5 separate regions of the Homo sapiens genome follow, and all the other regions are linked to region 1. The links are contacts of gene promoters, found by promoter capture Hi-C in blood cells and fetal thymus (Javierre and others, 2016). All regions are on one chromosome and are shown on one strand. The core of a region is centred on a gene start or on the middle of the fragment in contact, and the rest is flanking DNA. Distances in the headings are between cores, read along the strand shown.

Region 1 (5,395 bases), core at 1,069-3,568:
GAGGATCGTTTGAACCCAGGAGTTGAGACCAGGCTAGGCAACATAGGGAGACCCTGTCTCTACAAATAATTTTTTAAAATCAGCAGGGCAGGGTGGCACGTATCTGTGGTCCCAGCTATTCGGGAGGCTGAGATGGGAGGATCATTTGAGCCTGGGAGGTCGAGGTTGCAGTGAGCTGTGATCATGCTACTGCACTCCAGCCTGGGCGACAGAGTAAGACACTGTCTTCAAAAAACAAAACAACAATAACAACAATGGCATCAGCAATACTTTTTGAGCACATATTATGTGCCAGGCACTACTCTAAGTGCTTTTTTTTTTGAGACGGAGACTCACTCTTGTTGCCCAGGCTGGAGTGCAGTGATGTGATCTCGGCTCACTGCAACCTCCGCCTCCCAGGTTTAAGCAATTCTCATGCCTCAGCCTCCCAAGTAGCTGGGATTACAGGTGCCTGCCACCACGCCTGGTTAAGTTTTGTATTTTTAGTAGAGATGGGGTTTCACCATGTTGACCAGGCTGGTCTCAAACTCCTGACCTCAGGTTATCAGCCTGCCTTGGCCTCCCAAAGTGCTGGGACTGCGCCCAGCCTCTAAGTGTTTTTTGTGCCTTATCTCCTTCTAACCCCACAACAACACTTTGAGGTAGGCCTTGTCAATTATCCTCATTGTACTGAGCAGTAAACAGAGGCTCAGACCTGGCCAAAGTGTCCTGGGCAGGGAGCAGCAGAGCTGGGACTGGCCTCTTTCATCCTTGCATCTGTCTCCCTCTTTCCTGAAACCATCTGCCCCTTCCCCAAAGGGGATCCTACACTGGTGTCCTAACCTTTGCGGCAGTAGGTGGTGGACTGGCAGTGCTCATCAGGAAGGCAGGCCTTGACGGTGTCCCTGTCCATGTGGCGCAGGGTGGGCAGGGCTGGGTGGTAGAGCTGCTGCTTCACGCCCGCCAGCTGGTTGCGCTGCCGCTCCATGGGAAGCAGGATGGCCGGGGAGGCATACACATGTGTGGAGCCATCGTCCCAGGGCACCAGGTCAATGATGCGGGCCATAGCTGGGGGGCAGAGGGTTCTAAGGGGCTCACCCTGGGCTCATGCTGGCCAGACACCCTTCTCTGCATGAAAACAACCTTGGCCAGTGCCGATGTCTACTTGCCAAACATTTATTTAGCACCTACTGTGTGCCAGGCCATTTTTCTGGAGCTCAGCATGAGGTGGCAGGAACATTCAGATAACAGAAGATAACAGAGACAACCCTCCCACTCCCCTTCCAACACACACATACACACACACACACACACACACACACTCACATTGTGCCATGGCTGTGAGGGAGGTCAGTACAGAGTGTGTGTTTCTGGGGAGGCTGGGGTTAGGACATTCAAGGAATGGTCTAAAAGAGGTGGTATTTGAGTCTATTCGTTTTTTTTTCTTTCTTTCTTTTCTTTTTTTTTTTTTTTTTGAGACAGTCTCACTCTTCTGCTCAGACTGAAGTACAGTGGCGCCATCTTGGCTCAATGCAACCTCTGTCTCCTGGGTTCAAGTGATTCTCCTGCCTCAGCCTCCTGAGGAACTGGGATTATAGGCATCCACCACCACATGTGACTAGTTTTTGTATTTTTAGTAGAGACGGGGTTTCACTGTGTTGGCCAGGCTGGTCTCGAACTCCTGACCTCAAGTGATCCACCCGCCTCAGCCTCTCAAAGTGCTGGGATTACAGGTGTGAGCCACCTTGCCTGGCGAGTCTATTCTTAAATAATAAGCAGGAAAGTGCAGCAGCAAGCGGGTTCAGAATGTAGCTTAGTATGCCGTATACCTCTGGGTGAATAATTATGGACTTGCCCTAGCTATTTACCCAAAATTCTACAGATTGACTCAGAAAGATTTTCAGGAAGGGGAGCAACATGATATATTTAAACTAGAAAAGCATTACTGGATACCCAGTGCCTCCCTTTAAAAAGCAGATAGTCCCAGGAGCCTTTCAGTCATTTACACTTTAGTGAGAATTTGTTGAGACAGCTTGCTTTCTTCCTGACCCTGAGTTAGAGGTGAGAGGTGGAGGTGGAAGCTAGGGTGGCAGGAGGAGAGAGGACCTTAGATCATGGAGGAGCAGGGAGGGGGCATGGTGACAAGGCATGGGGAAGCTGCCTTAGGGGATGTGACTGCCTGGGGAGGGACAGGGAGGGGGATCACGGATATGGGGAAGAGAGCAAGGGCTCCCTGCTTCTGACTCACCAATAGCAGCTACCTTATCTGTAGGGCCCAGGCCCAGGTGCACAGGCTTATAAGGACTTTCAGTTCTTTGACTGCTCAATGGGCAGAAGAGGAAGGGAGGTGGACGAGCCCTTATTATGGACAGCAGCAGAATAAAGGAACATTGTGCACAGACAATGCCCATTGCAGCCTGATTCTGAGGCACCCACTCCTTAGCAACCCTGGCAACTACAGGCTCTAACAAGAGCCTGTGCCAGAATTCCTGTGCTCTGGCCACTCCCTTCCAGCCTTCCTGAAGGCTGTGGTCTCCCAGGCCTTAGCACAGGCCAGGCATCTTGGGAAATGTCAGATGGGGAGCTGGGGTTCCCTGGAGGTAGTCAGGCCAAGGCAGGCCAGAAATGGCTACTGAGCCCACTGCAGGCTGTGTAATCCTGGGCTAATTACCGCCTCTCTCTGGGACTCAAGGCTCTCCTCTGTGTTAGGCAAGGACTCTAGGATCTGCCGTTAGGAGGATCTGGATGCTGAGAGGGATCTCCCCTCCCTGGAACCCTCAGGGAAGAGGGCACTGCACTGTCTGCCAGCCCTTGAGTCTCCAGGAGTGGAGATTAGCTGTGGCCAGTATCCAGGGTAAGCGTGAGGGGATCAGGGAGAGTGGTGGACTCAGCAGGCCAGGGATTAGCAGATGATACTCCACCCTCAGCCCCTGCAGGACTGCAGGCTCCCAGAAAAGCCAGGCTGTGAGTGCCCAAGGCCAGCACCCCAAAGCCCTGGGGCCTGCCCACCATCCTGGTCACAACCATTAGAGACAGACCCCCAAGGTGAGGAAACCCCAGGAGATCCTAACTTATTTGCATATATTGGCATGTGCTTTTGCATATACCTGCCCAGGGGCTGAACCTGATGGGTCTTGGAGCCCCTCCTGTGAAATTCTTGTAGGATTTGTTTCCCCAGTTGCTCCTCCTCCAGTGCTCCATACAGCTTCCAGAACAGCATTCCTAACTGCTACCCCTTACAAAAAACCTTCCCAGAGTTGACTCCACTCACCACCCCACCCCCAATTTATTTCTTGACTCTTTTAAAGTTATAAAATAGAAGAAATACAGAAAGTGAATAAATATCTAATGTAACTAATAATTTACAAAATGAGACCCCGTATAACTACCACCCACCCTGGTCAAGACATGGAGTACTACTTTTAAAACAGTTTATCAGTTTCTTAAAAAATGAAACAGAAATGTACCATATGATTGGGTCATCTGGAAGATTCTACCCCAGGAGGCTTCCCAAGAGAAATGAAAGTATATTGTGAGGCACGATGGCTCACACCTGTAATCCCAGCACTTTGGGAGGCTGAGGTGAGCAGATCACTTGAGGTTGGGAGTTTGAGACCAGCCTGGCCAACATGGTGAAAACCTGTCTCTACTGAAAACACAAAAATTAGCTGGGCGTGGTGGTGCAAGCCTGTAATCCCAGCTACTCAGGACGCTGAGGCAGGAGAATCGCTTGAACCTGGGAGGCGGAGGTTGCAGTGAGCCGAGATCGCAGCATCGCACTCCAGTCTGGGCGGCAAGAGCAAGACTTCGTCTCAAAAAAAAAAAAGTATATATCTTCACAAAGACTTGCACACAAATGTTCATAGCAACATGATGTATCGCCAAAAAGTGGAAACAACCTGTGTCCACTGATGAGTGGATAAACTGTGGTGCGTCTATACCATGCAATACTCTTGGGCAATGAAAAGAAATGAAGTTCTGATACAAGCTACGAGGTGGATGAACCTCATAAAACATTACGCTACATCAAAGAAGCCAGATGTGAAAACTCACATATTGTATGACCCATTTATATAAAATGTCCAGGAAAGACAAATCTATAGACGCAGAAAGCAGATGTGTGGTTGCCTGGGACTGGGGTGTACGAATGAAGAGTGGTTATCATCTGGTGTGAGGGGTCTTACTGGGGCAACGGGAATGTTCTAAAACCAGATGTGGCAAGAGTTGCACAGTTCAGTCAATGTGTTAAAAATCATGAGTTAGGCCGGGGCGGTGGCTCACGCCTGTAATTCCAGCCCTTTGGGAACCCCGAGTGGGTGGATTGCTTGAGCCCGGGAGTTCGAGACCAGCCTGGGAAACATGGCGAAACCCTGTCTCTACAAAAAATATGAAAATTAAATGGGCATGGTGGCATGTGCCTGTGGTCACAGCTACTTGGGAGGCTGAGGTGGGATAATCACTTCAGCTCAGAAGGTCGAGGCTGCGGTGAGCTATGATCACGCCACTGCACTCCAGCCTGGGTGATAGAGTGACACCCTGTCTTAAATAAATAAATAAATAATAAGTAATATAAAAGTCATTGAGTTGTATACTTACCATGGGTGAATTTTATGGCATATATATTCCCATAAGCTTGTTTTGAAAAATAGATGCCAGCCAAGTTAGTAAAAGAAAGCAAGACATTGGCCCTGCCAGTCCCTAGAAGCTTCCACATACACCTTCCCAATTACAACCCCCAACCCAGCAAGAAGGAACCACTCTCCCATCTTGTAGTACAACCTGTGCTTTTATTTATGGGCAACTATGGAAAACTTTATTTAACAACTCTAGGCTTTATAGAAAACTAGAGGTGGCAAATGTACTTGTGTTTGTAGCCATAGACAGGACAGACTAATTTTGCCTTTTGGGAATTTTGTATGCATGGATCACTGGGGTCTTCTTTTGAATCTGGCTTCTTTCTCTCCATATATATGCACATGAGTTTCATCCAAACTTTAGCCACTGTGTGTGGCTGTGTTTTGCTCATTTTCCCCACCCTAGAGCCCACTACTGTTCCCTCAGGCTCATCTAATTTTCCCTCCTTCCCACTCTGCAGGGGCTCCAACTGCCTCTAAGTTGCCCAATCTCAGGACGCATTTCAAGTCTCAGCTCAGACAGTGGCCCCTTGGATCATTCCCTCACCCCAACACAGCCACTACTCTTGGCTTTCACCTCACCCCATGCTTCTGCTTCTCCATCCCCATCCCTGGCAGCTCCTTCAGGCTCCTTTACCAGCTCCTGCTCTTTTTGCATCCTCTGAGTGAGCCCGTGTTCCAGGTGCCACCTCTGGTCATCTTTGTTTCCTTGGGTTTCCGAGGTGATATCAGTCAGTCCTGTGGCTTTAAGCATCATCTGCAAGCTGAGGCCTCCAAAATTT
Region 2 (5,395 bases), core at 1,648-4,147, 760 kb before region 1:
AGAAGATCTCTAGGGTTTATACCTGGACATGTAATTGTTTTGGGAATAGTAGTTGTTATGTGTTGAAATGTGCCCCCAAAAAAGATACGTTTAAGTTCTAACCTGGGGAACCCATTAATGTGATCTATTTGAAAATAGGGTCTTTACAGATGTAATCAGGCGAAGATGAGGCAATTAAGATGCACCCTACCCCAATATGATTGGTGTCCTTAAAAGAAGAGAAGAGACAGACAGGGAGAGAACACTGTGTGACACCAGAGGCAGAGATTAGTGATGCCTCTAACAGCATACGAATGCCCAGGAGTGCAGACAATTGCCAGAAGCTAGGAGAAGCATGGAACAGAGTCTCTGAGACCCCATAAGGCACAAACCCTGCCAATACCTTGATTTTTGATTTTGGGCCTCCAGAATTGTGAGTGAATAAATTTCTGTTGTTTTAAACCACCCAATTCATGGGGATTTGTTACAGCAGTCTGAGCAAACTGATGTACTGGTATGTTTGAAATTCTTGTTTCTTGGTGCTGTAAAGAAATAGCACTTGAACATAAATTTAATTTCCTCAGCAAGGCCATCTTTATACTTTCGGCAGAAAGGGTACACTCGACAGCAGTTTTGCCATGAGAGTACACCAAACAAAGGAGACAAGGTCACTTATAACCTGATACATCCACCTTGCTGCTGTGTCCGGTTTTCATTGGCTGGAACAGGTCCTCACATTTTGTATTTGTTCTGATTGGCTAGCAACTTAGAACTTTTTAAAAGAGGCAAAGGCAGAGGAGAGCAAAGGAAGGAGGAAGTAACTTGTGGAATGCTGAGAAAGGTAAAAACACCTTCAAATAAGGAAGAGGAACAGGCTATGACCTAATGCTTGCTTGGACCAGTATAAGCATGCCAGGGCAAATATTTAGGCTAAATGGTGGCAGCTAGGAACATAAAGTACATTGATTTCTTTATTATGGCTAGCAGATATTTAAGACTGTTAGTACAGGTCTTTGAATACATTTTGTTTTTAAGAGAAGTTACTATTTATTTCTAATTAGACAGGGAGGAAAGTCTTTAAAGAAGAATCTCTACTTTACTTTTCACAGGTAGAATCCCAAGTCATGGCCTATAGGCGCATAGGTCAAGGTCATATGAGAGCATAAGGGTCTGAGACAGTAAATTGGAGCTGGGCCGGAAGGACCTAGAATGTGGCCCTAAGTAGGGGTTTAGACTTTACCATTCAGGCAACGTGGAGCCACAGAGGAGATATTAAATTGCCAAGGTACACAGTTCTATCTCGGTTTTATTTTATTTATGTATGTATTTATTTATTTATTTAGAGCCAGCGTCTCACTCTGTTACCCAGGCTGGAGTGCAGTAGCGCAATCCTGGCTCACTGCACTCTTTTTTTTTTTTTTTTTTTGAGTCGGAGTCTGGCTCTGTTGCCCAGGCTGGAGTGCAGTGGCGCGATCTTGGCTCACTGCAAGCTCCGCCTCCCGGGTTCATGCCATTCTCCTGCCTCAGCCTCCCGAGTAGCTGGGACTACAGGCGCCCGCCACTATGCCCGGCTACTTTTTTTTTGTATTTTTTTAGTAGAGAGAGGGTTAGCCAGGATGGACTCGATCTCCTGACCTCGTGATCCGCCTGCCTCGGCCTCCCAAAGTGCTGGGATTACAGGCGTGAGCCACCGCGCCCGGCCTGCACTCTTGAATTAATGGGCTCAAGCAATCCTCCCTCCTCAGCCTTCTGAGTAGCTGGAACAGGCACGCAACACCACATCCTGCTAATTTTTTTTTATTTTTTTAAGAGATGGGGGTTTCATCTTGTTACCCAGGCTGGTCTCAGACTCTTGTTTTCATGCTATCCTCCTGCCTCAGTCTACCAAAGTGTTGGGTTTACAGGCATAAGCCAACACACCGGGCCCCTACCTTGGTTTAAGAGACGAGTATCAGAGAAATAGACTACACATGAGAAAGACTCGTTTGACTTGTGGATGTGTCTGAAATTCATTTGCTTTTTCCTTTAAAACCGATTCATTTCCTTCAAAACCGATTCATTTCCTTCCACAAACAGTTATCAGGATTTGACATACACGAGTTTGTCATTAATGACCATGGGTTATTTTGTGCTTACTAAATCAGGCCCTGTTTTAGACATAATCTGCTAATCTTATTAATCCTCACAACTGCCCCACAAAATACACATGCGACCCTCTCCATAAAAGGGATAAGGAAGCCAGGTGCGGTGGCTCATGCCTGTAATCCTAGCAGTCTTGGGAGACTGAGACGGGCAGATCACTTGAGATCAGGAGTTTGAGACCAGACTGGTCAACATGGTGAAACCCCCGTCTCTACTAAAAATACAAAAATTAGCCGGGCGTGGTGGTGGCACCTGTAACCCAGCTACTCGGGGAGCTGAGGCAGGAGAATCGCTTGAACCTGGGAGGCAGAGGTTGTAGTGAGCCGAAATCACGCCACTGCACTCCAGCCTGGGTGACAGAGTGAAACTCCATCTCAAAAAAAAAAAAAAAAAAAAAAGGGTGGGGGATAAGGAAACATTCAGGAACGACGTGACATGACTTGTGCTTAGGGAAACTATTAGGGTTGAAAGTAAGGCCACCTTGGGTCCTAATGGCTGTAAGGCATCAGACAAAATACGTCAACTATGTCAGCCTACATTTTCTCATCTTTCAAACTGCCATAACAGCAGCCACCTCTTCGGCCGGCCAGGCCTGGCCCAGCTGGATTAAATGAATGAAGCGCAGCAAGGGCTGGGCGTAGGTAAACTGTGCAGTCATCCTCTTCCACGACCTCCGCTGAGCCCACGCCGCTCCGCCCGCCGGCCGCCAGGGATCGCTGTGACGTGGCTCGGGCCCAGCACGCGGCCGCTCTGGCCCAGGGAAGTCCCTGTCCTTACCTTCAGCAGGAGCCGGTTCCCTGTGTGTGTGTCCGCTCGCCCTCTGCTCCGTCCTGCGGCTGCCCACTGCCCTCCTACGGTCCACCATGGCCCTGCTGCACTCCGGCCGCGTCCTCCCCGGGATCGCCGCCGCCTTCCACCCGGGCCTCGCCGCCGCGGCCTCTGCCAGAGCCAGGTAAGCCAAGGGAAACGGAGATGGAGCCAGGGCGATGGCCCTGCCCCGCCGAGCTGCGAGCACCCCAGGACATTCACCCCTCCCGGCCCCCAAATACACACTGTCACTCACACGCACACACACACACTTTTCTGCCACCCCCTCGGCTTTCCCTTACTGGGGACTGAGGATTGAGCGTCCGTGCCCCACAGTGATCCTCAGGATCCCACATCCCTCTGGTCCCCGCACTGGGCCCTGCAGGAAGGCGTGCAACGCAATCCCTAGGGAAAGGAAGTGTGGCCCTCGGCGGTTGCCGGACTCCCATTCAGTGGGAGGGGTGCGGATAGTACTGGGGCAGCGGCGCCGGGTAACGACCGTGCCCTTGATAGGGTGCCCTGGGGGCGGCGGGCGCACCTGTCCTGGCCCCCGGCCCGCCCGAGTCGGTGGGCCGGCGGCGGCTGGCTGCCGCGTGTGTGCCCTGGGCGGGAAGAGCGCGAGAGGAAGGTTTCCGGGGCGCCGGCATTCGGGCCTCGCTTTCCTTCCCGCACCTGCGACCTTGGCGTGCGGCATTCTCCTGACCTTGCGACCCCCCGAGGTCCCTGTGACCCCGGGGCCCGTTTGGCCTTTGCTTGGGAAAGGGTCGAGGTGTAGTGTGTCTCTTTTTTTGTTTTGTTTTGTTTTTTCCTTATTGCCCCTAAGGAGGTCCGGTTGCAGGGAGGCTATCAATCTTCCTCTCCATCTCCCTGTGCTCTTTCATTCAGTAAATATTTCGTAACTGCAGTTTCTCAGAGCCAGGCTCTGGACCAGATGCCAACGATACAACTGTGAACAAGGCGAGGGAAGGACAATGACAAATGGTCATTGCTCAAAAAATGACAAACGTAATTTCGTACTGTGGCGTGTATAATAGTATGGAGGGAAATTTCAGAGCTTGAAACGAGCTCTAGTAATTCATTCCCAGTGGAGACCGGAGCCAGAAGATTAATTCAACTCAAGAAGCCGATTTGGAGCACTCTCCTTAAGCACTACCTTAATAAGGAACTGAGTTTTAAAACCACCCCCAAGCAGGTATTAACTGCAAGGAGCAAAGCGTAGCTTGGCCTTTCGTTTGAATGTATGCTCTGTGTCTTTCAGCCAGCAGAACTATCTGTCCTTTCCAAGGCCCCACAGCCTTGGCAGTACAGTTTTGCCCAGGCTTCGCACTTTTTTCTCTTCCTGACTTGGCTCCTTCCTGGCCCACTGTCAACGTGTGCTCTTTAAGTCTGCCTACCTAGTGGGCCAGAGCCAGGAGGAGTTATTTATGCAACAAATTTGGAAAACCAAAGGAGTGCTTAAAATTTCCGTCAAGAGAAAGTATGTTTCCCTATTGCAGTAATCTTAAAATAATACCTTGTTTTATGGATTTGGCTAGATCACCTGAAGCTCTAGTGCTTGGTGAAAATCCCTTGGGGTCAGGGTTAGTCATTCTTTCAGTTTGAGAGTCTGACTCATTTTTCTTTTCTGTATTTTTCTTACTAGAATGTAAGTTCCATGAGAGCGGAGACTTTACCTACTTTATATTCACTGTTACATCTCAGCACTATTAACAGTTGCTGGCATGTCTCTTATATTGGATATTTTTATTTTAAGCCCTGATTTTTCACGTAATGCAACGGAAACAAATACAGTATGACATTTTAATGTTGTATCTTAGATCAAAATCTGAACATAGGCTGGTCCAAGTGTAATGGTGTTTACAACTAATTGATCATAACCAGTTACAGATTTTATTGTTCCTTCTCTCGACTAATCTTACACAGGGGAACCACAGTGCTGCAAAATATGTACCAAAAAAAATTCCCTTTTTTTTTTTCTTTAAATACAGGGTCTCACTGTGTTGCCCAGGCTGGAGTGCAGTGGCACAATCATGGCTCACTGCAGCCTGACCTTCCAGGCTCAAGTGGTCCTCCTGCTTCAGCCTCCCAAGTAGCTGGGACTGCAGGCATACACCACCACACCCAGCTAATTTTTTATTTTTTGTAGAGACAGAGTCTCCCTGTGTTGGTCTCAGACTCCTCCCACATCAGCCCCGCAAAGCGCTGGGATTATAGGCTAAGCAACCCCACCTGACCAGAAAATAAATTCTTGAAATAGTTGAGCACCTAATGTTGAGGAATTACTCTTCAGATTTAAATAATGATACCTGATTAGGTGACAGAATCAGATGCCATATTTGGCATGAAGGTTAACTCTTCAGGCAAGATCAGACTTCCCTCCTTACACTGTGGAAGTGATCTTTACCTAGCTCCAAATGGTAAAAGTGGAAAATACTTAAACTGAATTCATCGACATTTCTATTTAAAT
Region 3 (5,395 bases), core at 1,529-4,028, 730 kb after region 1:
CAGCCCTGTTTTCTTTTTAAATTGTGGTGAGATATACAATTTTTTTTTATCATTTTAATGTTTAAGCACACAGCTCAGTGGCTTTAAGTATGTTTACATTGTTGTGCAATGATCACCACCATCCTTCAGTCCATTTTAACCATATCCACACAGGGTGGCTTGGGAACTCCCTGACATTACTTTTCTGAAAAGGAATGAATTGGTTCTCTCTTATTTTGATATAACTTCCACAGCAGTTGTGGAAACAGTGTAGTGATTAAAATTATGGGGTCTGAAAGAGGCTAGCCCGTCTGGGTTCGAATCGCATCTCAGCTACTTACTAATTGTGTGACCTTGGGTAAGTTACTTAATTTCTCTAACCCCCATATAAACACATTTATCTGGAAAATAAGAATGGTTTATGGTAGTTATCATATAGGATTGGAAGTGGAATTTAGATGAGAATTCATGTAAATAGATTAGTTCATAGTGAACACTTAATAAATGATAGGGAATAGGGAATTTTTTTTTTTTAATTGAGACAGGGTTCTCCCTATGGTGCCTAGGCTGGTCTCGAACTCCTAGACTCAAGCAATCCACCTGCGCTGGCCTCCCAAAGTGTTGGGGTTATAGGTGTGAGCCACCGTACCCATCCCGGAATAAGGAATTTTAACAACTGAATAGATTATTTCTAAAAATAAAAGGAAAGTTTCAGAAAGGACCCAGACTTTGGGATAAATACCGTAGGCTCACAGAAGGCTCATTTTCCCATAGCATATAGGGTATAATAGGCAAGAGAACTGAATGGATTCTTCAGTATTCCCCAGAAATCCCCAAGTCCACATGGGAAACGAGCTTAATGATGAAACATCTATATTCAGGAGTTAAGGGCATGAACCTTTATACCTGAAGGTATAAAAACTTGGTCAGTAATTTTCATTCTAAATGGATTAAGCCATACAGCCAATAACACCAAATAACAGTGTTCTTTTCTCAATTCTCATAAAACTTAAAGTCAACAGAATTTTCTCAAATGTAAGTTTTCCCCTCCTACATACTTGTCTTAAACCTCTGGGGACTGTTACTGCTTCTCTGTTACTTAGCAGGTTTCATGGATGCCCAAATACATCCACAAGTAGGAACTCAAAACCTAGGAAAATACAGAACCAGCTGAAGCTTAATACCTTGTTTTCTTTATGGCCATGTGTGCTTATGGTTATGGTTTTATGTGTTTATTTTCATTTTTATTTTTTCCAGACGGAGTCTCGCTCTGTCGCCCAGGCTGGAGTGAAGTGGCACGATCTCGGATCACTGCAAGCTCCACCTCCCAGGTTCACGCCATTTTCCTGCCTCAGCCTCCTGAGTAGCTGGGACTACAGGCGCCCGCTACCACGCCCGGCTAATTTTTTTTGTATTTTTAGTAGAGACAGGGTTTCACCGTGTTAGCCAGGATGGTCTTGATCTCCTGACCTCGTGATCCGCCCACCTCGGCCTCCCAAAGTGCTGGGATTACAGGCGTTAGCCACCGCACCTGGCCTGGTTTTATGTGTTTTATGGCATGAAAATGTTAAAACTCAAAACTATCTAAAATTGAAATTGCTCTTACCCTACATAAGAAATAGAGTAGATCATTATTTCCTATAGTTTTGCGAAGAACGCCACACTGCTGGTGCCCTATTAGCCTGAGTCAGTCCCTTCCAGCCTCTGAATCTATGCTTATTAGATGTTTTCAGGAGTACTGGGCTGTTTGTTTCTAAGACAAACTGCAGTAAGCCTTTACTTAAGTATTACATTGTGCTACATTAAAAATTGCAGGCAGCTTGATGTTTTCTCTTTTTAAAATTAACTCTCCAAATTGATTTCAATGTCCTTAAAGAAACAAGCAAGTCCTTAAAAACAGTATCTTAAAAGCTTACCCATGATAATGTCCTCTAAATATCCAACCACAGCATCAAATTCTGCATCAGAGGCGGAGGAGCTGAAAAACATGCCTGGATTAGGTGCTATTTCAAATAATGCATTAAAAAAATGTTTTTAGTATGGACGTTTTCAAACATGCACAAGAGAAAAAAGAGTAGCAAAACGAACTTCCCATCACCCATCTTCAACGATTAAGAATGACTGACTGATCTAGTAAGTCCAAACAGAAGAAAACACACTCGGCACGTTTGTGACATGAACGTTCAATGTCATGACTCCACTTTAATAAAAACTTGTTCTCCAGGCTCTTAGCTATCACCCCATACCTGTCTGCTTGTGAGCATGAACCCGGCACGGGCGAAACACCTGCCGGGGGGGGTCATTTGGTCAGGAGTCCGGGAGGCGGGGGCCAGGGAGGGGTGGAGGGGCCTCGGGCGCTCAACCCCTCCAGGCTTTGCTGACAGCTGAGGGTTGGCGGCTGGGGATTGTGATGGAGGCGCTGATCAACGGTGACACCCGCCTCGCACTCCTGTCCTGCGGGGCCTGAAACCTGCAGCCTTAGTACTCTACAAAAGGAAGGCCTGGAGCTGGGACGGCGCCTTGGCGGCCCCCACCCTGCCCGGCCCGGCCCGGCCCGGCCCCTAAGGACACCTGTTTTATAGGGTCAGGCCCCGGGGCGAACGCCCGCTGCCTCCGGCCCCAAGTCGCCTGCGCCCTGGAGGAGCTACTCACAAAGACAGCGCAAAGCTCTCTCCTTCTAAGGCGTCCATCGCAGTCGCCCCGAGTAGGCTCCAACCCCGCCCGCGGCCCAACTCGCATGCAGGGCGCGGCCGCCCGGCGGGGTTAAGGCCTCTCAGCCAAGGCCGCGGCCAGCTCACTGCCAGGTCGGGTCAGCGCCTGCGCGCCAGGTCCGGCCTTGGATACCCTCTGCCGCCACGCGTCGGTCCGGCCTCTACGCCCGCCTGGCCCTCTGCGCGCGCCGCCGACGCCGCAGGTCCGGGCCTCGGTGACTGCCGGAGGGGCGCGGCGCCCCGCCTCCTGTCACCATGGCCACCGCAACCCCTTCCACCGCCTCACGGCCGGCCGGCATCCAATCACAGGCGAGCGTTACCGATGCCGGGGCGGGGCAAGACAGGGAGAGGAAGTCCCGGAAGGGAGTGCGGAGGGATGCGGCGCTTCGGCGAGCACCCGTTGTGTGGGAACTCCGTCTCAAGTCGCCCCCATTGTACGGATGAAGGAATCGAAGCCACGAGCCAGAATTTCCTCACTCGCAACTCGAGAATAAATTGCGCCTCCCTGAGTGTGGAGGATTAAATAAGTAGTTTAAGGCGTGTTTAAAGAGCGCTTGTAAGTTGCCAAGTCGCTGGAGAGCCAGTCCCTTATCCCTTGAACCAGGTGATGCTGACGTCTGATTTCAAGACAGTTCCTACCCCTCGTGGAAGGAAAGCCCCATCGCAAGAAGTCGATGTCCTGTAATTTACGTTATAATCTTCGCATCATAAAGATTACTCGGCAGTAATTGGTTTCTTGACTAATTATACAAGATGAGAATTGAAGAACTATTTTGAGCCACGCAATCAGGAATCAGATACCTTTCAGGAAAAGGCCTCTTCAAAACTGCCAAACTTTGAAAAAGGATTCGTTTGAGCTGATTTCTCTTGATTGGACAACTAAGCATTGTGTCTCTTTAGTTGCATGATACCTTATGGCCAAAGTGTGGTATATGACTAGAGGAACTAGAGGGGTTTAAGGTATGAACTGAGGGTCAGGTGGCCAGTCAGAATGGGTTAGCAGACATTTTTTATTTTTTTGAGACGGAGTCTTGCTCTGTCGCCCAGGCTGGAGGGCAGTGGCACGATCTCGGCTGGCTACAACTTCCGCCTCCCAGGTTCAAGCGATTCTCGTGCCTCAGCCTCCCGAGTAGCTAGGATTACAAGTACGTGCCACTATGCCCGGCTATTTTTGAATTTTTAGTAGAGACAGGGTTTCACCATGTTGGCCAGGCTGGTCTCGAACTCCTGACCTCAGATGATCCACCTACCTTGGCCTCCAAAAGGGCTAGGATTACAGGTGTGAGCCACCACAACCGGCCTAGCAGACATCTTTGAATGGACTTAAAATAGATATCCGTGGGATCTGAAACAAAGATGGTTACAAAGACACAGTCGGGTGTGACAGCTGTGACCAAGGTGACATAAATTATTACTAATTTATTTATTTATTGAGATGGAGTTTCGCTCTTACTGCCCGGGCTAGAGTGCAATGGTGCAATCTCGGCTCAACACAACCTCCGCCTACCGGTTTCAAGCGATTCTCCTGCCTCAGCCTCCCGCGTAGCTAGGATTACAGTCATGCGCCACCATGCCTAATTTTTTTGTGTTTTTAGTAGAGATGGGGTTTCTCTATGTTGGTCAGGCTGGTCTTGAACTCCCGACCTCAGGTGATCCGCCCGCCTTGGCCTCCCAAAGTGCTGGGATTACAGGCGTGAGCCACTGCGCTCGGCCTATTTATTTTTTGAGAGGGAGTCTTGCTCTGTTGCCCAGGCTGGAGTGCAGTGGCGCAATCTCGGCTCACTGCAATCTCTGCCTCCCGGGTTTAAGGGATTCTCCTGCCTCAGCCTCCTAAGTAGCTGGGATTACAGGCGCGTGCCACCACACCCGGCTAATTTTTGTATTTTTAGTAGAGACAGGGCTTCACCATGTTGGCCAGCGTGGTCTCGAACTCCTGACCTCTGGTGGTCTGCCCGCCTCGGCCTCCCAAAGTGTTGGGATTACAGGCGTGAGCCACCGCACCCGGTCAGGTGACATCAATTATGAGTTACTCTGTTTAGCACCAAGTGGAAGATAGGCATTTAAAAAGATTTGCTGAATTACTGGACTGAGTTGTTTAGTCAAGCCCTGGTCACACAGCTTACAGCAAACTCAGAGAGTTTCTTCATGACCTACTTTCTCTATATACCACACATTTCTGGACAAAATGAATTTGCCTACCCTTCCTAAGTCATTGATGGAGTGGAGGAGGAACACACCTTGATTTAATCTGTTCTGGTTATCTATTGCTGTTACAAACCACCTGAAAATTTAGTGGCTTAAAACCACCATTTTGCTCACTAATCTGTAATTTGGGCAGGGCCAGCTAGTCTCTATTCCAGTTGGTGTCGGCTGGGGGCAGCTGGAATGGACTAGAGGAGCTTCCTCCAAGGAGTTTACTCACATGGCTGGCAAATTAGTGTTGGCTCTTGGCTCTCAGTTGTGGACATTGGCCAGAGAACTGGGGCCGGGGTTTGGGGGGTTTCAGTTCCTCTCCATCTATAGGATTCAGGGGATTCTTGGGTTTTCTCACACCATGGTGCTGGGTCCAAGAGCAAGTGTTTCAAGACACTGAAATGTAAGCTGGCAGTCACTTAAAGACCTGGTACTGGAAACTGGCACAATAGCCCTTCCACTGTGTTCCACTGATCAAGCAGACCCAGAGCCACCCAAATTTAAGGAAAGTA
Region 4 (5,395 bases), core at 1,378-3,877, 650 kb before region 1:
CAATACTAGGTGCTGAGAATACAGCTGTGAACAAGACGGAAGTGATCCTTCTTCTTACTATATGTGGGGTCCCTGGCTCTTGCACAGTTCTGCTCTTGCACAGTTGCTTGAAAGCACAAGGGACTCAGTAAATGTAGGCTGAAAGACCTGGCCTCCAACTAAGGAAAGGGAGGTGTCGAAAAGTATTTTTAGGCTGGGCTTGGTGGCTCATGCCTGTAATCCCAGCACTTTGGGAGGCTGAGGCGGGTGGATTACCTGAGGTCAGGAGTTCAATACCAGCCTGACCAACATGGTGAAACCCTGTGTCTACTAAAAATACAAAAATTAGCTGGGTGTGGTGGCACGTGCCTGCAATCTCAGGTACCTGGGAGGCTGAGGCAGGAGTCTTGCTTGAACTGGGGAGGCCGGAGGTTGCAGTGAGCTGAGATTGCACCATTGCACTCCAGCCTGGGCAACAAGAGCAAAACTCCGTCTCAAAAAAAAAAAAAAAAAAAAAAAAAAAAAAAAAAAAAAAGATGTGTTTTTAGGACATATGCTCAGTTAACTAGGCCAGTCACAAAAAGACAAATACTGCATGATTCCACTTATATGAGGTATCTAAAGTAATCAAACTCAGGAACATAAAGAAGAATAGTGATTGTCAGGGACTAGGGGGAGGGGGAAATGGAAGGTGTTAAACAACAGATGTAGTTTCAGTTTTGCAAGATGAAAAAGTTCTAGAGATCTGTTGTACAACAATATGCATATAGTTAACACTACTGTATTCTACACTTAAAAATGATTAAGATGGTAAATTTCATGTGTTTCTTACCATAATTTTTTTTAAGTATTTTTTTGGGCACGAGAGGTAATATGAGAGAGATGGCCAGAAGACCACCTACTGAGCCTAGTCTGAGGACAGGGGTGAGCACAGGGATAGGTTTGAATTTCTTTTTCTTTTCTTTTTTTTTTTTGGAGACGGAGTCTCGCTCAGTCGCCCAGGCTGGAGTCAAGCGGCGCGATCTCGGCTCACTGCGACCTCTGCCTCCCGGGTTCACGCCATTCTCCTGCCTCAGCCTCCCGAGTAGCTGGGACTACAGGCGCCCGCCACTACGCCCGGTTAATTTTTCTGTATTTTTAGTAGAGACGGGGTTTCACCGTGTTAGCCGGAATGGTCTCCATCTCCTGACCTCGTGATCCGCCCGCCTCGGCCTCCCAAAGTGCTGGGATTGCAGGCGTGATCCGCAGCGCCCTGCCTTTTTTTTTTTTTTTTTTTTTTTGAGACAGAGTTTTGCTCTGTCGCTCAGGCTGGAGTGCAGTGGCGCGATCTCTGCTCACTGCAACCCACGCCTCCCGGGTTCAAGCGATTCTCCTGCCTCAGCCTCCTAAGTAGCTGGGATTACAGGTGTGCGCCACCACGCCCGGCTAATTTTTTGTATCTTAGTAGAGATGGGGTTTCACCGTGTTAGCCAGGATGGTCTCGATCACCTGACGTCGTGATCCACCCGCCTCAGCCTCCCAAAGAGCTGGTATTACAAGCGTGAGCCACCGCGCCCGGCCTTAATTTCAAAAGGTAATAGAGCTAACCAGTCAACACTTCCTTCCCAATCCTTTCTCTTTTGGGTACAGGTGAGTATAAAATCTTACCAACTATCATAGTTAACAAACAAACCATAGCAAAATATGTTTCTATGCTTTTTCTCTTGAGAGCAAAGGACATGGGTATCCTTTCTTAGACGGCTTCTAGGACTTAAGCCAGGAAGAGAACTTGCGTCTCCTACGTCTCTGGAAGGCGTCTCTGGAAGGTGTCCCTTCTTCAATAGACAGAACTAAAACAGAAAGTTCCCTTGACCAAAGCGAAGCAAGCGAGGACAAGGTGGCCACCTGGGTGACTACAACCCCCAGCATGCACTGCTCCTTCTAGGGCGCAGCGACGAACGAAGACGCATTACTTCTGCGATGGGAACGGGGTAGAGGAGCGCGACTACACATCCCAGGATGCAAAGCGCCCCAACTCTAGTCACAACCTGGCTTGCTTTCTGGCTGGCGTTCCCCGCCAAAGGGACACTAGGGGAGGGGATTGTTTCGGTTGGGAATCCCCGAAGTCTACTGGACCGTGACATTTCGAAAGAGGAAGGAAAGTGGAGGAAAGCTGTTTCACTGTAATTCAAAGTAGTTCCCGCGCAGGGTGGCGAGGAGTTATGGGCCCCTTCCATAATTTATTGTTCCTCAAAGGCAATGCCAAGCCCCACTGGTCGCAGCCCTCCAGGGCAGGTGGGAAGTACGTGAAGCCCCAAATCGAAGTTATCAGCCTCTCCCTATTGGCCCTCGCCTCGAGCGCAGGCGCGAGGGCTCTGACTCCGGTCCCCTGGGCCTGGTGAGCGGCAATTGGCCAAAGTCCGCGAAGTAGGAGGCCGGATTGGTAGTTGCTAGCAGGAGCCTGATTTCTTCCTCGACTTCTGCAAGTGATAGAGTGTGATTGGTTTAAATCCGCGGGCACCTGTCGGTGATTGGGTAGAAGCCACAGGCGGGGCGCGGCCATTGGCTGGCTCTGGGGCCATCCCTCCTCGGGCGGGCAGCGAATGATGAAATGGGAACGGGGAGGGGAAAGGCCGCGACGTGAGCGCGCGACCTCCGGCGCCATTTTGTAGAGAAACAAGCGGAGTTAACCGAAGAGGGGGTCGAGGAGAGCCGGAGTCGGGGACCCAGGAGTTTCCTGTGTCCAGCGCTGCCGGAGCCGCCTGAGGTGAGGCGGGTTGGCGTCAGGGGCTAGGGTAGGGTGGCGGTGTCAGCTTGGGAACGCGAGAGCCGGTGGGAGGAGGAACAGGGGTGGACCTGGGGCCACTGGAAGCGTTTCCCGGAGCTCTAGGGAGTGAGAGGCAGCCGGGACGGGGAAGTGGGACGAGGCGGGAGAGGGCGGACTCTTCTCCACACGGCTCTCGGAGGCTTCGCGCTCTGAAGATGAGAGGCCAGCGAGAAGGCTCCAGGAAGCGGAGGGTAGAGCGCGGGGTGAGACCCATGGTGGTCTCTGTCCCGGGCCTGGAGGCTCAGGGGGCGGCAGCGGCGGCAGTTCGTGTCGCTGGGCCTGGCTTCGCGCGGGTTGCACCCCTCTGAGACCTCCACGACCTCCTTAACTACTGTTTCTGTCTCTGCTCCCTGATGGTTGCAGTGGGCATCGGCTTCCGAGGCCTAGGGCTTCTGGCGGGGGGGACCGTGTTTGGAGTTTTTGCATGTTTCCAGTTCTTCTCCGTGTACTCGGAGCTGCCACTCTCCCCGTCTTACGCCCCCAGCACGTTGTCAAAGCCCCCCAGGTTTCGGGTGTCCCCGGATGGGAAGGGCGGGCGGGAGCAAGCACTTCCTTATTACTTGCTACAGGTTTTGTTCCACTCGCGCGCCTGGGCGCTCACACTTTCTTTGAAGTTGGCCCCCACCTACTCGGTCCGGTGTCTGCAGTAGTGGCGGTCCTGCTCACCCAGGACAAGTGTCCCGCTAGTGAGCTGAGCACTTGTAGGCCTCAAGGCTGATAAGATCCACGGCAGGTCTTGTAGAGGTACTTAAGGCCAAACACAAATAATACTTTTTCAGTACCACCTCCTTTGCAGAATTCACCCAAGAGGGCTCACAGATACTAACTCCCCGAGGAGTAAGCTTTGTAGATTAAAAAAGAATGCTTGACATCTGTGCGTTTGAAAATGTTGTATTTAAAATAAACTTTATGACAAACTTTTCCCATGAAGTTAATCAAATGTCACATTTCTTAGGACTCTAATAAAGTCTGTTTTCTTCCTGAAAACTGAGTAACAATGCTTAACCTACCCTGCCGATTTCTCTACAATTCGATAGCCTGTGACTACTTGGGTTTTTTTTTTTTTTTAAGTCAGTGATTGAGTGAATATAATTATACTGTTTGAAACAATGCCGAACGTTTTCCTTATGACAGCCCCTTTGATAGGAATAGGGAATACATGGATTAAAAAAATGAGGGAAGGCAAGTAAAATATTAGGAGGAAGGTCAAACAGATTAAGAACAATTTTTTTCTATAGGTACTTGGGTTTAATACTTAAGTGATCTGTGGTCCCGGTTGGTATTCCTACCCTTTTAAAGATTGGCAGCAGAGTATTTTAGCTATTAAGAAGACATGTGGTAACAGTTTAAATAATTATGTTTTAGGATACTGCAAATTGTTACCTTGTCTAAGGAGAATATGCATTGATGATACATGGTTTTAGGTGGCTAGCTGTGCTTTGACTGAAATGATAGCATGTTGATAAAACTAGTTTGGAGAGTTAGTTCCTTTTCAACAAGTGTGGGTTCCCCAAGTCTTAGTGGAAACAAGTCTAGAATCGACTGGGCGCGGTGGCTCACGCCTGTAATCCCAGCACTTAGGGAGGCCAAGGTAGGTGAATCACCAGAGGTCAGGAGTTCGAGACCAGCCTGGCCAACATGTCACAACCGCGTCTCTACTAAAAATACAAAAATTAGCCGGGCGTGGTGGCAGGTGCCTGTAATCCCAGCTACTTGGGAGGCTGAGGCAGGAGAATTGCTTGAACCCGGGAGGCGGAGGTTGCAGTGAGCCGAGATAGAGCTACTGCACTCCAGCCTGGGGGACGGGGAGACTCCGTCTCAAAAAAAAGTCTAGAATGAAGGCGCAAAGACATGTCTATTTGTAACTGAAAATATTTCCTTTTCTTACCTAAGATTGTAATCTTAGAAGTTTTAAGGTACGGTTTTGTGGCATTACGGTGGAAAAGAATTGAAATGTGCTCTTTTTGGTTCCCAGCTTAACACCCCGGGTTCATTTTCTTTTTTTCTAGTTTCTGAATTTCTCTTCGGGGTTTAGATCCTAGTCTCTTTAACATAGATGTTGTCAAGCTAAATAATAAGACATCCTTCTTATTTGGAGTCAAGTCATTAAAAAAAGCTATGAAAACAAATGGAAATGCTTGCCATCTTTTCAAAACATGCTTTAAAGTCTGATTTCAAATTACCTTGCATGTTACTTTTTCTGAGTATGTTTTAGGATAGATTCTGATCTGGTTATGAGAAACTTTTTTTTTTTTTTTTTTTTTGAGATGGAGTCTCGCTCTGTCACCAGGCTGGAGTGCAGCAGCACACAATCTCGGTTCACTGCAACCTTTGCCTCCAGGGTTCAAGCAATTCTGCCTCAGCCCCTCGAGTAGCTGGGACTACAGGTGCCCGCCACCACACCCAGCTAATTTTTGTATTTTAATAGAGACAGGGTTTCACCATGTTGGCCAGGATGGTCTCGAACTCTTAACTTCATGATCCACCCGCCTCACCCTCCCAAAGTGCTGGGATTACAGACGTGAGCCACGGTGCCCAGCCGAGAAGCTTTCTTTTTAACCAGTTTGAATTTATGAACTTGATTATTTCTTTCTGTGTAATAACAAACAC
Region 5 (5,395 bases), core at 1,538-4,037, 530 kb after region 1:
AAGTGCTAGGATTACAGGCGTGAGCCATCATGCCCAGCCTATTATAAAAATTTTCAAACACGCAAATTGAAAGAATTATGGAATGAACACCTGTATATCTGCCACTAGGTTCAACACATCTGTCATGTTCTTCATTCATCCATCTTGATTTTCAGTGCATTTGTTGCAGATATCAGTATTATTCACCTCTAAACATTTTAGCATCAAAGACTTCTACGTTCACTGTTTTGTTATTCAGATGCCATTTACACACAATGAAATGCATAAATCTTAAGTGTACCATTCTATGAGTTTTGACAAATGTATACACTTGCACAACCTAAACCCAATCTAAACAGAGAACATTACTGTCACCCCAGAAAGTTCCCTTATGCCTTTTCAGTCATTCCCCATTCATACTGTTCTGAATTTTTCACTCTAGGTTAGTTTTTGCTTGTCTTAGTTTTGCCTGTCCTAAGATTTCATCTATATGTACATGTTTCAGTAAAGCTTCTTTCACTTAGGACTATATATGTGTGTGTATATATATATATTTATTTATTTTAAGTTTAAATAGAGACAGAGTCTTGCTATGTTGCCCAAGATGGTCTTGAACTCCTCGGCTCAAGCAACCCTCCCACCTCAGCTTCCCAAAGTGCTGGGATTACAGGTGTGAGCCACCACACCTGGACCACTTAGTATATTTTTGAGATTGATCCATATTTTTATGCCTATCAGTATATCTGGCAAAGATTCTCTCCTTGATCAGGCTCTAACCAGGCTCCTCTGAGCCCTCTTCTTATCTAGGCCTCAACCTTGGCCTATAAAGACTTGAACACACACTAACATAAGCATCACTCAGGGCCACATCCCTTAAGATAACCCTACCCCCCTTTAAAGTGCCTGCCTGAGAAAACTCAAGGCTGTCAAAAAAAATTTTACTGTTTGTTCAGGCTAACACTTAAGAAGGATAGGGCTTGTCTCCCTGTGGGAAAACAGAATCCTAACTTTGTTAACTGCCAGCTAGCAGACCAATCTTATTTATAATTATTCACTATCCTGACTCTACTGAGTCCCCACCTGCCTTCCTCCCTCCTCCCTCATTTTTTCTTTGAAACACCCAGTGACTTCTGCATGCTCTAAACTCAAGGTTGGGCTCCGTTCATGCTAGACTCTTTTCCCTATTGCAATAGTTATTACTGATTAAAAATGGTCCTTATCACTTTAGTGTCCAGCTTTCTCTTTGACTGATTTTTAGTTTTTATTGCAGAATAGTATTCCATAAAAAAAATACTATTCTGTTGCTAGACAACTGGACTGTTTCTGTGTTTGGCTACTATGAATAAAATTGCTATGAATATACTTGTACTAACTTTTTTGTAGACACATACCTTCATTTCTCTTGGTGGATTTGCGGGGTCATAGACATTACTTTTACTACACATCTTTAGTTTGGAATTTTGTATAAATACAACAAAAGGGGGCTAGGCGGTGGCTCATACCTGTAATCCCAACACTTTGGGAGGCTGAGGCAGGCAGATAACTTGAGGTCAGGAGTTTTGGACTAGCCTGGCCAACATGGTGAAACCCCGTCTACTAAAAATAAAAAATTAGCTGGGCATGGTGGCACAACCCCAGCTACTAGGAAGGCTGAGGCAGGAGAATCACTTGAACCCAGGAGGTAGAGGCTGCAGTGAGCCGAGATTGTACCACTGCACTCCAGCCTGGGTGACAGAGTGAGACTCTGTCTCAACAACAAAATTAAGCCAAGTAGGGTGGCACGCACTTGTAGTCCCAGCTCCTTGGGAGGCTGAGGAGCCAGACCCTGTCTCAGAAAAAAAAAAAAAAGAAAAAAAAGAAACAGAATAGTATGTGCCAAAATATCAATATTTTAATACATGTACTGAAAGATACGGCACAAATATCCGCAAAACTTTGAAAAGGAAGGAGCAGATGCAAAGTATGACTGTAGTACCACTGAGGGTCATGAGAAGATTTTAGGTGAAATACAGGTGAACGTTTCATCAGTTATGTATGTATGCTAAAGTGTTAATGCATACGTTCTAATTAAGGAAGGCGATATTAGTTTTCCATTTATGACAATGATATAAAGTTTCCTCTTTAAGAACTCCTATTTAAAAATAAAAATACTGAGTACATAGTGGCAAAGGTGGTAAGAGAGTATCACAGAATTCGTGAAGTGGTGAGGAAACGGCTGGCTTTCGGGAAACAATGGACTAGGCTCTCTGTGGCCGTGTCCACCTGTCCTTCCAGTGGACTTGGCAATGGACTTGAGAATGGGTCTGCGACTGCCAGTTCTGTAACCAACAGGCTCAGGCTGCGTGACTTTCGTACCCCGAGCCCTCTCTGAGGCTCTGCCAACTCCATGAAATGGGGGTGACAGGCCCTGCCCCGCTGCATCTGCCCCTCACAGACAGCGGAGCAGGGCCGAAGCTAGCCAGGCGGCTCGCCCGAGCCCGCGCCGATGCCCTTCACCTCACCTTGCTCGTGGGCCGCCCCAACGGCCTCTTCCCCCCACCGTCGAACCCAGCTGAAGCCGGCCTCGCGCCCCCTCCGCGCTCCCCGCCTCTCCCCGGCTTGGCAGCCCCCTCACCGGGCAGGCATCGCAGCTGCAGGAGCCTCCAGCCCGCCCGGCCAAGCGCACCAGATACCGCCGCCGCCGCCATTTTGGAAGCGGGCACGTCGCCCACGGCGACGCGACCGGTAGCTACGGGACCACGGCCCTAAGGAGGGCGGAAGTCGTCGCTCCGTGGAGCCTCCTCCTCTCGCGAGAGGCGCAAGGCGTGGAGTCGACGGCTGGAGAGAAGCCGGGAGCGAGCCCAGGCGGCAGGTGAGAGTGGTGGGGGCCAGCTGAGCGCCAGAGCTCCCTCAACTGTCCCCTCCCGGCCCACCCTCGTTCCCACATCCTCTCATTTTCTCTTCCCACCCCGTTCCTCGATGGGAACGCAGCCACGGCCGCCCCGCTGAAAGCCCCGGCTGGTTTATTCCTGAGAAGTCGGTGTGAGGGGCCAGGGCCGGCCCTAACCTCCCTGGGGTCCTGACTGGGAATTTCTGCCGTTCCCCGGCTGCCTCGTCCCTTGCGCAGCCGGCCCTACTCTGAGGCCCCGGGGACACCACGCTGAGGAGAAACGGCTCCGAGCTTGGGATCGGGGAGACCTGGTTCTGAGACCCGGTCCTACCAGTAGCCAATCGTTGTGACCTTGGGCCTCAGTCCCCGTGACGTTTTGGTCCCTGGGGGTTCCTGGCAGCAAAGCACGAAAGCCTTGGAGTCGGGGGGTACCTGAGCTCACGATTGTAATTTCGAACCTGCAACTTGTCCGAACCCCCAGCGTGTTGAGTTGATATAATTAAGTATCCAGATCGGAAGGATGCTTGTTACTAGAACAGACAGCTAGGCCTTTGTCCAGAAGGATTGATTGAGTGGGTCTGGGTGTGGTCCAGGAATCTCATTTTAACCACTCCCTCGGGTGATTTGTAGGATCTGCAAGTTCGGGAAAGGCTGGTGCCCTTCATTCTGACATTACTGAGTGCCAAGCTCTGGATGGCTCAAGGAGGTCACGGTCTAGCCACTAACAGAGCACTTCACGGGGGTGTCATCAGAGAAGGCTTAGTAGGAAGAAGTAAACGGTTTTTGGGCTAAGAGTAACTGACGACAAGAGCATGTGATTCTGTCGATTTTGTGTTTGCAGTCAGACCCCATCATTGTGTCTGTTAAAGTTGTGCTTTGCACACCCCTTGTCAAATCTAGTCTTTTCAGAATATCCGGCTCCCCCCTGCACGGGTGCGGGGAAGACCTCCTAAGCCAAAACTTACCCCAAAGGTTAAAATTTTAGATCCATATTTCTGGTTTTAGGTAAAACACTCCTCTCCATAAGGATTTGTTTCTGAGTTCTATCCATCCATCTTTGAATGAGCCTTTCCTGTGGAAACTAACATTTGGGTATCCTTTCTGAAACCCTAATTCCTGACACACGCCAAATGCCTGGAGACGTTCCTGTTTCATTGTTGATTCTCACTTTTTAAAAAAAATTCTGGGCCAGGCTCATGCCTGTAATCCCAGCACTTTGGGAGGCTGCGGCGTGTGGATCACTTGAGCTCAGGAGTTCGAGACCAGCCTGGGCAACATGGCGAAACCGCATCTCTACAAAGAATACAAAAATTAGCTGGGTGTGGTGGTGGGTGCCTGTAATCCCAGCTATTTGGGAGGCTGAGGCGGGAGAATCGCTTGAACCCCGGAGTCGGAGGTTGCAGTGAGCCAAGATTGTGCCATTGCACTCCAGCCTGGGCAACAGAGCAAGACTCTGCCAAAAAAAAAAAAAAAAAAAAAAAAAAAAAAACCTCTAAGGTCTTAGTCTAAGTGTCTAGACAGAGCGTTCTCTTGAGGGCAGGGAACAAGTGTCTTCTTGTCTGTCTCCCGTGTAGGGACAGGCACATAGTAGGTTTCTTAGGTCTCATTTGCAGGTTGTAATTGTGCCTTCCTACCATTCTGCTAAAGCTGGCAGGGAAACTGAGGCCCAGAGAGGGGCAATGGCTGACTTGGATTGCACAGCAGGCTGGTTAGGCCCACTTGGTACTGGTCACCCAGAGGCCAGGCAGTGACATGTATGTGCACAAGAGCTTCAGTTAGTTAATTTTATGTTTTTAATTTAATTTTTTTTTATTTTGAGATGGAGTCTCACTCTGTCTCCCTGGCTGGAGTGCAGTGGCAAGATCTTGGTCCACTACAACGTCCGCCTCCTGAGTTCAAGCAATTCTGCCTACCTCAGTCTACCAAGTAGCTGGGATTACAGGTGCACGCCACCATGCCCAGCTAATCTTTGTATTTTTAGTAGAGACGGGTTTTCTCCATGTTGGCCAGGCTGGTCTTGAACTCCTGACCTCAGGTGATCCACTTGCTTCAGCCTCCCAAAGTGTGGGATTACAGGTGTGAGTCACTGCACCCAGCCCAGTTAGTTAATTTTAATTAGGATTTTCCTTTCTGATAACTGTCAGTATTCTTGGAACTCTTTTATGCACCCGAGTTAAAGAATTTTTTGAACTGAAGCCCAAACTTCAGTGTTATTTTTTGCTTTTGTCCCCTTTCACCAGAAGAGAGACCAAATGCCTCAAGATTTGATGCTTACTGGGCACCTAAAAAACAGTCTGTTCTCAGACATCCGCTTTTACTGCCTGCCAGTAACATTTTAGAAGGGCCATGCACATGTGTGTGCCTCAGTCAGAGTTGGAGAGGTACCCAACAAGCTCAGTGACGTGACAATGATGCTACCTCTTATTATGAAACTGGGTCCTGACTCACAGCTTCTAAGCATGTTGTCTTAGATACTGGACACTTTTTCCTTACGGGTTTTTTTGTTTTAAAAGACAAATTCACAACAGCAACATAAAATTCTGATGA

What was found. The method cuts DNA at HindIII sites, captures the fragments that hold promoters and counts their contacts. A CHiCAGO score of 5 or more calls a contact.
Region 2: a contact is called between the fragment with the promoter of GOT2 here and the fragment with the promoter of SPMIP8 in region 1, in 4 of 17 cell types (total B cells, activated CD4 T cells, fetal thymus and 1 more). The highest score is 10.1, in total B cells.
Region 3: the fragment with the promoter of ARL2BP here is called in contact with the fragment with the promoter of SPMIP8 in region 1 in 6 of 17 cell types (M0 macrophages, total B cells, monocytes and 3 more); the score reaches 9.1 in M0 macrophages.
Region 4: the fragment with the promoter of CNOT1 here is called in contact with the fragment with the promoter of SPMIP8 in region 1 in 1 of 17 cell types (fetal thymus); the score reaches 6.3 in fetal thymus.
Region 5: a contact is called between the fragment with the promoter of CIAPIN1 here and the fragment with the promoter of SPMIP8 in region 1, in 10 of 17 cell types (neutrophils, total B cells, M1 macrophages and 7 more). The highest score is 13.6, in neutrophils.

What each region holds. Positions count from the first base shown.
Region 1 is chr16:57,973,467-57,978,861 of GRCh38, reverse strand. It overlaps SPMIP8 (sperm microtubule inner protein 8), which reads right to left and starts at 2,318. Exons shown (of 8, transcript NM_199456.3): 1 at 2,228-2,318; 2 at 823-1,047. The coding sequence starts at 1,045. The HindIII fragment of the contact is 9,202 bases long and covers 1-4,613 here.
Region 2 is chr16:58,731,818-58,737,212 of GRCh38, reverse strand. GOT2 (glutamic-oxaloacetic transaminase 2) reads left to right here and starts at 2,897. Exons shown (of 10, transcript NM_002080.4): 1 at 2,897-3,073. The coding sequence starts at 2,985. RefSeq lists enhancers at 2,773-2,852, 2,552-3,170 and silencers at 3,293-3,382, 3,483-3,572. The HindIII fragment of the contact is 10,522 bases long and covers 1-5,395 here.
Region 3 is chr16:57,242,642-57,248,036 of GRCh38, reverse strand. ARL2BP (ARF like GTPase 2 binding protein) reads right to left here and starts at 2,778. Exons shown (of 6, transcript NM_012106.4): 1 at 2,632-2,778; 2 at 1,896-1,957. The coding sequence starts at 2,669. LOC124903697 (a long non-coding RNA gene) reads left to right here. Exons shown (of 2, transcript XR_007065082.1): 2 at 1-2,222. RefSeq lists silencers at 2,380-2,589, 2,680-3,059. The HindIII fragment of the contact is 5,456 bases long and covers 1,893-5,395 here.
Region 4 is chr16:58,627,058-58,632,452 of GRCh38, reverse strand. CNOT1 (CCR4-NOT transcription complex subunit 1) reads left to right here and starts at 2,627. Exons shown (of 49, transcript NM_016284.5): 1 at 2,627-2,725. RefSeq lists enhancers at 1,760-2,249, 2,540-2,749, 2,198-2,873, 2,874-3,550. The HindIII fragment of the contact is 12,291 bases long and covers 1-3,629 here.
Region 5 is chr16:57,444,777-57,450,171 of GRCh38, reverse strand. It overlaps CIAPIN1 (cytokine induced apoptosis inhibitor 1), which reads left to right and starts at 2,787. Exons shown (of 9, transcript NM_020313.4): 1 at 2,787-2,830. COQ9 (coenzyme Q9) reads right to left here and starts at 2,693. Exons shown (of 9, transcript NM_020312.4): 1 at 2,594-2,693. The coding sequence starts at 2,666. RefSeq lists an enhancer at 2,581-2,875. The HindIII fragment of the contact is 5,604 bases long and covers 492-5,395 here.